Linked DNA regions of Homo sapiens: regions 1 and 2 are each linked to region 3. The links are contacts of gene promoters, found by promoter capture Hi-C in blood cells and fetal thymus (Javierre and others, 2016). All regions are on one chromosome and are shown on one strand. The core of a region is centred on a gene start or on the middle of the fragment in contact, and the rest is flanking DNA. Distances in the headings are between cores, read along the strand shown. Region 1 overlaps KIRREL1 (kirre like nephrin family adhesion molecule 1). Region 2 overlaps KIRREL1 (kirre like nephrin family adhesion molecule 1). Region 3 holds the start of KIRREL1 (kirre like nephrin family adhesion molecule 1).

Evidence for each region. Contacts are between HindIII fragments. The CHiCAGO score rates a contact against its expected background, and 5 or more counts as called.
Region 1: a contact is called between a fragment that was not itself captured here and the fragment with the promoter of KIRREL1 in region 3, in 1 of 17 cell types (endothelial precursors). The highest score is 9.0, in endothelial precursors.
Region 2: a contact is called between a fragment that was not itself captured here and the fragment with the promoter of KIRREL1 in region 3, in 3 of 17 cell types (endothelial precursors, megakaryocytes and fetal thymus). The highest score is 12.1, in endothelial precursors.

What each region holds. Positions count from the first base shown.
Region 1 is chr1:158,072,918-158,075,847 of GRCh38, reverse strand. The region is part of intron 1 of KIRREL1 (kirre like nephrin family adhesion molecule 1); the gene reads right to left. Among named protein-coding and RNA genes, the nearest start is that of KIRREL1-IT1, 49 kb to the right of the region's middle. The HindIII fragment of the contact is 1,979 bases long and covers 332-2,310 here.
Region 2 is chr1:158,095,890-158,098,654 of GRCh38, reverse strand. It overlaps KIRREL1 (kirre like nephrin family adhesion molecule 1), which reads right to left. Exons shown (of 15, transcript NM_018240.7): 15 at 1-2,765. Among named protein-coding and RNA genes, the nearest start is that of SMIM42, 31 kb to the left of the region's middle. The HindIII fragment of the contact is 1,657 bases long and covers 569-2,225 here.
Region 3 is chr1:157,991,957-157,995,095 of GRCh38, reverse strand. It overlaps KIRREL1 (kirre like nephrin family adhesion molecule 1), which reads right to left and starts at 1,451. Exons shown (of 15, transcript NM_018240.7): 1 at 1,368-1,451. The coding sequence starts at 1,419. The HindIII fragment of the contact is 5,747 bases long and covers 1-3,139 here.

The sequences.
Region 1 (2,930 bases), core at 72-2,571, 81 kb before region 3:
GGGCCTTAAAAATGGGTCTAGTCCAACCCTCTCATTTTACAGAGGAGGACCCTGACTTCCAGGGAGGACAGTAACTTACTCAAGGGCAAGTTAATGGCAGAGCTGGGATTAGAACCTGAGCCCCTGCATCCAGGTCCTAGCTGTTCCTCTACTACCCATTGCCCCAGCCCACCCCCACATTAATGACTCCTACTTAGACGCGTGTCATGTGAGCTGATGGGAGTCAATGTGAACCAACACTCATGTGCAACTATGCCAGGTACAATTCCTCCACGAATACATCAGGGTAGATACTATAAAGCCAGCATGTCCACATGTGTGTATAGAAGCTTCCTGGGTGGAAAGTGTATCCAAAACAAAGTAGCTCTGAACCCACTTCTTGGCACATGTGCCCTGCTCTGTGTGTTCATCCTTCGCTCCCAAGTGCAGGGGGGCCTAAGTGTGTACACATGAACACACCTGCACACACCCCGCCTCCTTCACTGTGGGAGCTGAGAGGCCACGTGACTTTGTTCCACTCTCCCTCCGGCTGTGGGAGCTACACATGGCTGCCCGGCTGGCAGCTCGGCCGGGAGCATTTGATTAGAGAACTGCAGAGTAATTGCCTTTAATTGTGGAGCCTAAATGGAGCAGGGAATTGCATTGCGGGTTTTTTCTCCCCCACCACTCCCACCCACTGGCTCCAACCAGCACTGGTCGGCCCCAGTGGTGGGGCAGGCCTAGGCTCCTTGCAGAGCTATGTGAGCTATGGGGCTCAGGTTCCTTTGCCAAGTTGTGGGGAAAGGAGAAGGGGGACAAGGGAGTGACTGAAGGACAGCAAAGGAGAGTTCTGGGACTTCCTTGCCATGCTCCCAACCTGTCATACCAGGTAACTGAAATCGGCTCTCCCCAAAAGTCACGGCCTCCTCCTTCTTCTTTCCCTCCACAGCTCATGAATCTGCAGAGGCCACAATCCCCAAATCTGACCTTTTCCTAACAGAGCTTTCTAAAATTTATCTGCCCCATCATCACTCCTGTGTGTAAGCAAACTTAACTCACCCCTCGCCACTCCAAGATGTCCCTCTAAGCCACCACAGAAGTGGGATCCTAGTCTCATCCCCTTCCTTCCTTTCTCTTCACCAGCCCCATTTCTCCTTTTTTCCTCAAACCTGCTCTACATGTCCCTCTTCCAGGAAGCCCTCCTAGCCCAATTCCTTGGCCTCTTGGGCAAATATAACCGGTCGCGTCACTCGGCCCTGCTGTTATCACTATGTACGGGGTTTCCTCTCTCAAATGATCAGGGGTAATGTCCATGATTTTGTTTGTCACAGGGTAGAGGGCAACTAGTAGGTGAGGACATTTGCCCTATCTGTTCCAGCAGAATGCCAACATCTCCTCTAAGGCAGAGGGCCAAGCTCTCTCCCCCATCTGAATCTCCTGAACATCCGACATCCATCCCCACTGGTTGTTGCACACAAAGGGGTCTGAAAAAGAGGTAGCTGGGGCCTAGAGTGGACTGATAACCAGAATGTGATCTAGCATGAGGCAGACTCTTTACTCTTGATTAAGTGTGCAAATTTAGGTCTTTGGGTCTGCAGGGGCCAGGAAGTTAGAAACAGGCTCCCTCTCCCATACTCCATGAGTGGCTCCTCAAGTCTGCTGACCTGACCTTTCATTCATGTCTTCTAAAGGATAATCCCTTTTGAGTGATCAGGGTGGCAGGTGCTGAGATCCTGGGGGAGGGGTGGGTCAGGTGAGCAGCCAACATTATTAATTCAAGCATTGTCCTCATTATTATTCAAATTTATTCATATCCTTGCGCATTTCTCTAGTGCAGCTATATGCTGCAAACTCTCCACACTCACGTTTCTCCTTCCCATGGCCCCTGGAGCCCAAGTCAAGGGCTTAAGAGTGGGCTTGCTGGTGAGCCCTGGCTCAGAGGTGGAATTTATACGCATGGCTTTCCTGCATGGAGCCTGGACACCCTGGTCTCTCGCTGAAGTCTCTCAAGGACAGTGAGCAGCTGGCTCCTTGTCCACTTGGAATGAAGAAGCAGCTGACCCTGCGGCAAGATGGAGATGGGAAGCACTTGAAGTAAGAATCAGGAAACGGGGGTCTTGTGGAGATGAGGAGTGGTGTGACCTTGGGTGTGTCAATTCCTCATATGGGCCCCCATTTGCTCACCTGTACAATGACAAGCCTGGACTGAGGAACGCCAAATCCCTCTGTGCCCAAATACTAAGAGGACAGGTTTAGGAGACAGACTGTGGTTTATATATTGCCTGTGTGGCTTTCTCACCCAGTGACCTTGGCCAAGTTATTTGCTAAGCTTCATTTTCCTGCCTGGTAAACTGGGGAATGTTAATGTCTATTTCTGGATTGCTGTCAAAGTAAAATGAGATGAGGTGTATGCTATGCGTGGTACAGTCCCTTGCCTGTATGCACTAAATGGCAGCTATGATCATTATTTCTCCTGAACAGTTAGACAATTAGAGGGACAACTGGAAACCTGAATAGGAACATGACAAAGAAGGTGGTATCTGACTTTCTGGCAGTTTTGAAGTTTCCTCTTGATTTAGGCCTGACTGAAGCAATTCAGTCCAGACACAGGGGCATGGAAGTAATAACCTTGCAGAGAGTCCAGAAAGGAGGGGAAGTAAAGACATCTCGGGAATTTAATTGGATGGAAAGGCAGCCTAGACCCTGGGCCTACTAAAGCCACTGGCAATGTTTTCTGGTCCCAAAACAGCCCCTGCAGCCAACATAGAATCCCAAATATAGTTCAGATGCCCCTGGGTTATGCCGACCTGGCTTATGATTACAGGAACGCCCCAAGTCTCCCTTCACCAAGTCCTGTTCTCTCTGATCTGTACCCAGATGCTAGGCCACTTGTCCTGGGTTTTTAGTGGCTTCTTGACACTCAAGGGCAAACCAACACCTCATCCCCCTTT
Region 2 (2,765 bases), core at 148-2,647, 100 kb before region 3:
TGAGGGATCCAGAATTTAGGATATAGGGCGGGTCCTTCACGAGGGAAGTGACCGTGGCTCAGCCAAAATCACAAGATCCTCCTCAAGATCCAGAATGTATTCCAAAGCTGTTGTACCCCTTTCCCTCCACCGGCTCCCCTTGCAAGCTGCTCCTTCTCAGGCAGGGGCAGCTGTGCTTACTCCCCGACCTCTGGCTCCAGGCACCTTGGACTGCAGGCTTCACCTGTTTGGTGAGAAGAACAAGCTGTCCCTGGGCCAGAGGAATGTTCCTAAGGATCAGGGTGGAGGAAGGCTCCTCCCATTTTCCCCTACAGAAGGAGTGCCTGAAACCTAGGCACATAACAATATCCCTATGTGCATACTATGTCCTGCCCTGGCAAAAGGCACCTTTGCAAACCCATCAGAAATGAGTGGGGAGCAGCACAGATGACCCGATAGCCAAAGGATAGCCCCACATCAATTTTACTCTGAGGTTTAGGGTGTATTTTGTGTTGCTGTTTGGGATAAAGGGGTCCCTGGTGGAAACTAATTCACTTCTGACAAGATAATGAAGCCCATGGTGAAAGCTTCTTTGAACAGGAGAGAACCCCCCCAGCCAGCTCTCCAGCCCTCACCATGCTTGCTACTGTTCCCAGTTCCTTGCCAGCAATGGGCAGTCCCATCCCTACCCCCAACCCTATGGGTATAACAAAACCAGAATAGTTTTAGGTTTATGCAACCCTCCCCCTTCATTTTACAGGCCAGACAAATTGGGGGCAATGAACAGAAAGTTAGGCCGAGATCTAACCTTTGCAGCTTCAGGACTGGGTCCTGGGTCTCCTGACCTTTAGTCCCTTGCTCTTTCCACTAAAACAAGCCACCAAAGGTGATCAGGATCACCAACTACTGAGGCATCACCATGTTGCAGGACTCCAGGATTCGACAGCAAAGCTCTGTGATCAAGGACGCCTTCCACTCCCCAGAAAAGCTATTCCACTGGGCCCATCAGGTAGGTTCCAATTCAGATTCTGATGCACCAACACGTAAGTTACAGAGGGCAGAGACTACCTTGGTTGCTGATGCTTCCCTGTGCCTTCCAGGGTGCTTGTTTGACACCCAAGAGGCTCCAGTTACCTTGTTAAGGAGTAGAGGACAGTGAAGTAGCTCTGTGTCAGGCTTCTGGAAACTAGGCTTCCTTTCTCAACAATTCTCCCTGCACCATCAGCTCAATTACCTAGTAACCTTAGGCCCTCTCTCCATCATTTCAGTAGAATGAAACTAATACTTAAGCTAAAAGGGGATAAATAAGAGAATCTAGCCAAACCCAAAACAAAAATGAATTCTTTTTGGAATATGCATGTTTTAAAAGCCACCATCTTTAGACTTCAAGTCTTTGGATTCCCCCATGGTTTCTGGTTTTTGTGAAAATAATAGAAATTTGCATGAATTTGTCTGTACAAGAACCTGAATTTCTTGACAGACCTTCCCACTGAGCTCTCATAAAAGGACTCTATAGAAAGGTATCAGCTTCCAGGGATGGAATACAGCTGGAAGCCTGTAAATGCCCCAGATAGGGCCCACTCCACAGGAGTTTTCCCTGCTGAAATGAAGGAGGATGCACAGACTTCCTGTGAAGTTAAAATTAGAGCTACTTGCTTCCTGGGTATTATCTGGTCCTTCCTACAAGGGGTTGGCCAGGAATGTCGCCCCCCAGACCCATCCATAAGGGTGGTAATGGCCTGTGGCTGATAAGCATGTAACTCATTAAAGCGAACATGAATTATGAATGGTGACCACGGAGAAAGGGCGAGGAACATTTTGGGAACTGCACCAGAGGCCCTGTCTCCCACTGGGCTGGACATGCAGCTGGGGAGGCGGGAAACAGCCAACTCCAGACACTGCTTTTTAGGAAGGCGAGGCTGGGGCAGGGGTACAGGTTCTCCTTGGAGCGCCTGTTCTCTTTGGTCAGAAAGTGGTGGCTGAGAAGCAGTCACATGGAAGGTGTGTGTTGGATGTGCGTGCACATGGAGGAGGAGAAATGGCCTGTGTAATGCCTGCGGTGCCCTTCCGCACCACCTTCTCCCGGTCAGCACAAGTTCTCTGTCAGGGCCATTTCCAGGCCCCTTACCTCTCCAGGTCCCCTCACCCATCTCTCTCCTAACACTGTAACACTTAACAGTGTGTCCGAGGCTCACAAGTACCCACTCCCCACACAACCGCCCACATAGGGTCGGTCATCCAAAGCTTGACACTCAAGGCACTGAAAGTGGAAGAAGGAATCTGATTGGTCCAAGAAAAAAAAAAAAGACACTTAAAAACCAAAACCTGTCTCCCATACCCCCTGGAAGGTGGCCTCCAACCAACTGATGGGACATAGGAGAGTAGAGACTGAGAGCCAGGCCCCCTCCGTAACCCTATCAGAGTCCACTGTGTGACAGGTCTGGCAACCTGAATGTTTAAAAATGGATTCAAAGTGCTTGGAGACTGAAAGAGTAATGGAGGGTGTTAGGAACCCCATGGAGAAGAATAGGTACTACCTTTCCTTTCCACTGGGACTTGTATTTGGGTGGGGGAATCCCTACAGCTTTTCTTCCCAAATGAGGTTTTCATTGTTTTTTGTTTTCTTTGAAAAAGAGCCTACAGCACCCCCACCCCTACCTCACCACTCCCCAAACCAGCTCAAGAGTTAAAGCCAGGAAGTGGGGCAGACTGGGGAGAGGAGGCTTGTGTGGCTCCCTCTAGTGTTGGTTCACTGCTGTGCAGCACACAGCAGTATCTGGGTCAAT
Region 3 (3,139 bases), core at 202-2,701:
GATCCATTCCCAGACACCCCCTAAAAGAGGACACCTCCTCCATCTGCAGTCTGTACATCTCCATAGGTGTCTGCCCATATGAATGTCTGTTCAAGTTTCTTTGTTTGCTAGAGGGTTGGTTTCTGTGAGAGCGTGTGTCCTGTCCTTGTAAACGCCTGCATACATGTACTGTGTATAGTTGTAACGTTCGGGTGGATGAATGCGTGAGTGTGTGCCGATCTGGGGGAGGAATCTGTCTTCCTCAGATGTCTCCGTGTCTTTGTGTATATGTGTCTGTCTCAGTGTGGGGGATGTTTGTGGGGATGTCTCTCTCTCAGTAGGTGAGTAGTCTGTCTCAGTGTCTGTGAGTGTTTTACGGTGTTTGTGTGTCAATTTCTGTGTGTCAGCTCCATTTTTGGGGAGGGAAGGAGTTCAGCAGGATTCAGTCTTCCTTAGAGTCAGACCTGGGAGGCAAGAACCAACTCCCACAGACCCCAGTCCCTGCTGCAGTCTGGACCCTTGGTTCCCTCAGCCCTCTTCCCTCCCCCAACCCCAGCCCTGCCCAGGATACACTGACATCCTCATCTCTCCCAACCACCTCCCTCACCTCCCAGCCTCTCCCCTGCCAGTGTCAAATAAGCCCCAGACAGCAACACTTTCCTGAGCCCAAGTAGAGTGTCAGCCCCCTCCCCCCACCGCCTCTGCCCCCGCCCCCGTGAGTTCCCCCCCTCTGTATCAAGCGGGCCTGAAGCTGTATGTGGAACTCCACTCTCCACCCAGAGCCTCCGTGGGCAGGGGTTCCAAATCCCCACTAGAGGCGCCGAGACACCCCTCCCTTCCTCTAGAGGGGGCAGCCCCAGGCAGGCTGGAGCCGTGATTCAGACTCAGACCCCCGAGGGGCTGGGCTGGAGTAGGGGGATCCCCTTGGCAACATCTTCGGGAGGTGGGACCCAGCTTTTCGCTCACCCCCTCGCCCGAAATCCGAAATCCCACCCTCTTCCCAGCCTTGCCCTTAGGCTGGACTCAGGCGTCCGGAACCCCGGCCTCAGAGGGCGAGGGTCGGTAGGGCTGCCAGAAGCTCAAGAGAAAGCGTTCGGTTCCCCGTTTTACTCGGACCTCCAGCCCTCGCGGCCCCATTGCTCGGTTCTCCCGCGCAGCCAGAGGAAACAACTTGGGCAAATCAACGGCAAACTCATTCTCCCCAGCCCCTCGTTACTCCGCGCCCCCTCCCCCAGGGCTCTGCGCCCGGACCGAGCCCCCGCCTCGTGGCGTCCGGACCCGGGGACTGGCCGCGGGCCGCGGGGCACTCCAGCACTCTCCCACCGGGGAAGCAGTGCCCCGGCCCCGGGGGGAAGCCGAGCGTCCGGGGGTGGGCTGGGGGCCCTTACCTTGGGAGAAAGTATCGGAGAGAGTGAGGATCCAGACGAGGAGGCTCAGCATGCTGTCCGCCCGCCGTGCGCCCGCCCGCGGCTGGGGCCCGGAGTTGGCGAGCGAGCCAGAGGAGCGGGCTGGGGAGGAGGGGAGCCCGGGAGCCCGGGAGCCCGCCCCCCGCCCGCCCGCGCCCGCCCCTGCACACACACACGCGCGCGCGCACACTCACGCGCACAAACTCATTTCCCTGCCCTCCGATTCTCTTTATCTCTCTTTCCTCCCAGACCTTTTTCTCCTCCTGGTCGCCCTCCCCCTTTAATTATTTCTCCTCTCAAGCTGTATCTCTCTGGGTCTCTTTCGGTCTTTGCTCCCCCTTTCTCTCCCCTTCTCTTCCTTCCCTCTCTCCCTCCCTGCCTCCCTGCCTGCCTGCCTCCCTCCCTCCGCCTGACGTCTACTCTCCCTCCGACGGCGCCTCCCTCCACGAGCCCTCCCCCTGCCCCCCCACAACGCGCGCACACACATACCCCCCTCGCTGGAACTGAGATGGAAGGAGAGCAAAGAGGGAAAGGAATTGAGGGCAAAGGCAAAAGGGGGTGAAAAATGTGACCGTCGTGGGTTCTGGGGCAGGCACGACGGGACCCCTGGCCACCCCACCCCCTCCTATTTATAGACGCAATCTTGGTCGCGGGCTATGGAACTAAGCAGTGGAGGAGGAACATGGGCTGAGGGACATCAGCCTCTAGCTCAGAGGATGTGATGGGGAGTGTGTGTGTGTGTGTGTGTGTGTGTGTGTTTCCGTGTGTGTGTCTAGGAGTGGGGTGGGGGGCAGGGAGTTAAATAAACATAAAGACCTTTCTTTTTAAATTCCACACCCAAAGTCTAGCCCCTAGATTCCCCAAATTAAGAATTCTCAATTGACTAATGAATGCTTGGATAAGGGAGGGGCATACATGCCTCTCCCCACCTATAAAACCCAGAACTGGAGAATGGGAGCTGCCTCTTGGACCTGCCTTGAGGCCCTGCCTTGGCTTCACCCAGTCAAGGTTGAGCACAGCTAGGCGTTGGAGGACTCAGCGGCCTGGAAGAGGCACAGTTGACCCTTCCTTTGTTCATCTTAGCCTTCCACCCATCCCGAAGGAGAAGGTAGCCAACTGGATGGCTTTGAAGGGCCAAGACCTGGCCTCACCTCCCTGAATGCAAGCCAGAGGAGAAGACAGCCACCAGTCAGATCTCTAAGCACGCTGGAGTTTGAGATCTTTTGGGGTAGGGACATGGAGGAACTAGGAAGGAAGGGAATTCCTGAGAATCATGAGAGCATTCAGGAGGGATCTCCACTTTCTTAAGGGCCCAGTTTGGCAACCAGCTCCTCTTCTCACCCCTGACCAGATACTTCTGCTCACAGGATTGCTCGGGTAGCCAGAGGTCTGGACCCTAGGGAATGGACAGAGAAGTTGCTGGAATTGCACAATTTTACAGTAATGTGTTGGTCCAAAGAGGTCTCCACTTCTTTCCTCCCAGATCCCAGATCTCCTGGGTCTCTAACACTCCCCGCCAAGTTTTCTCAATTTCTGCCCCTGAAAGTAGGTGCGTGGCTCTCTGGTGCCCTCTGTTGATGTGTAGCGGCCACAGCTCCTCTTTCCTCCGCAGATACTAACACCAGCCTGTGGTCCAGACGCATCCACACACAATTAGAAGACAGAGAAAGGCAGGAAAACACCCAAGCTCATATGCAGAAGCCCCATATGCACAGACCCAGAGAATTCTTCATATATTCCAAAACACAGGCAAG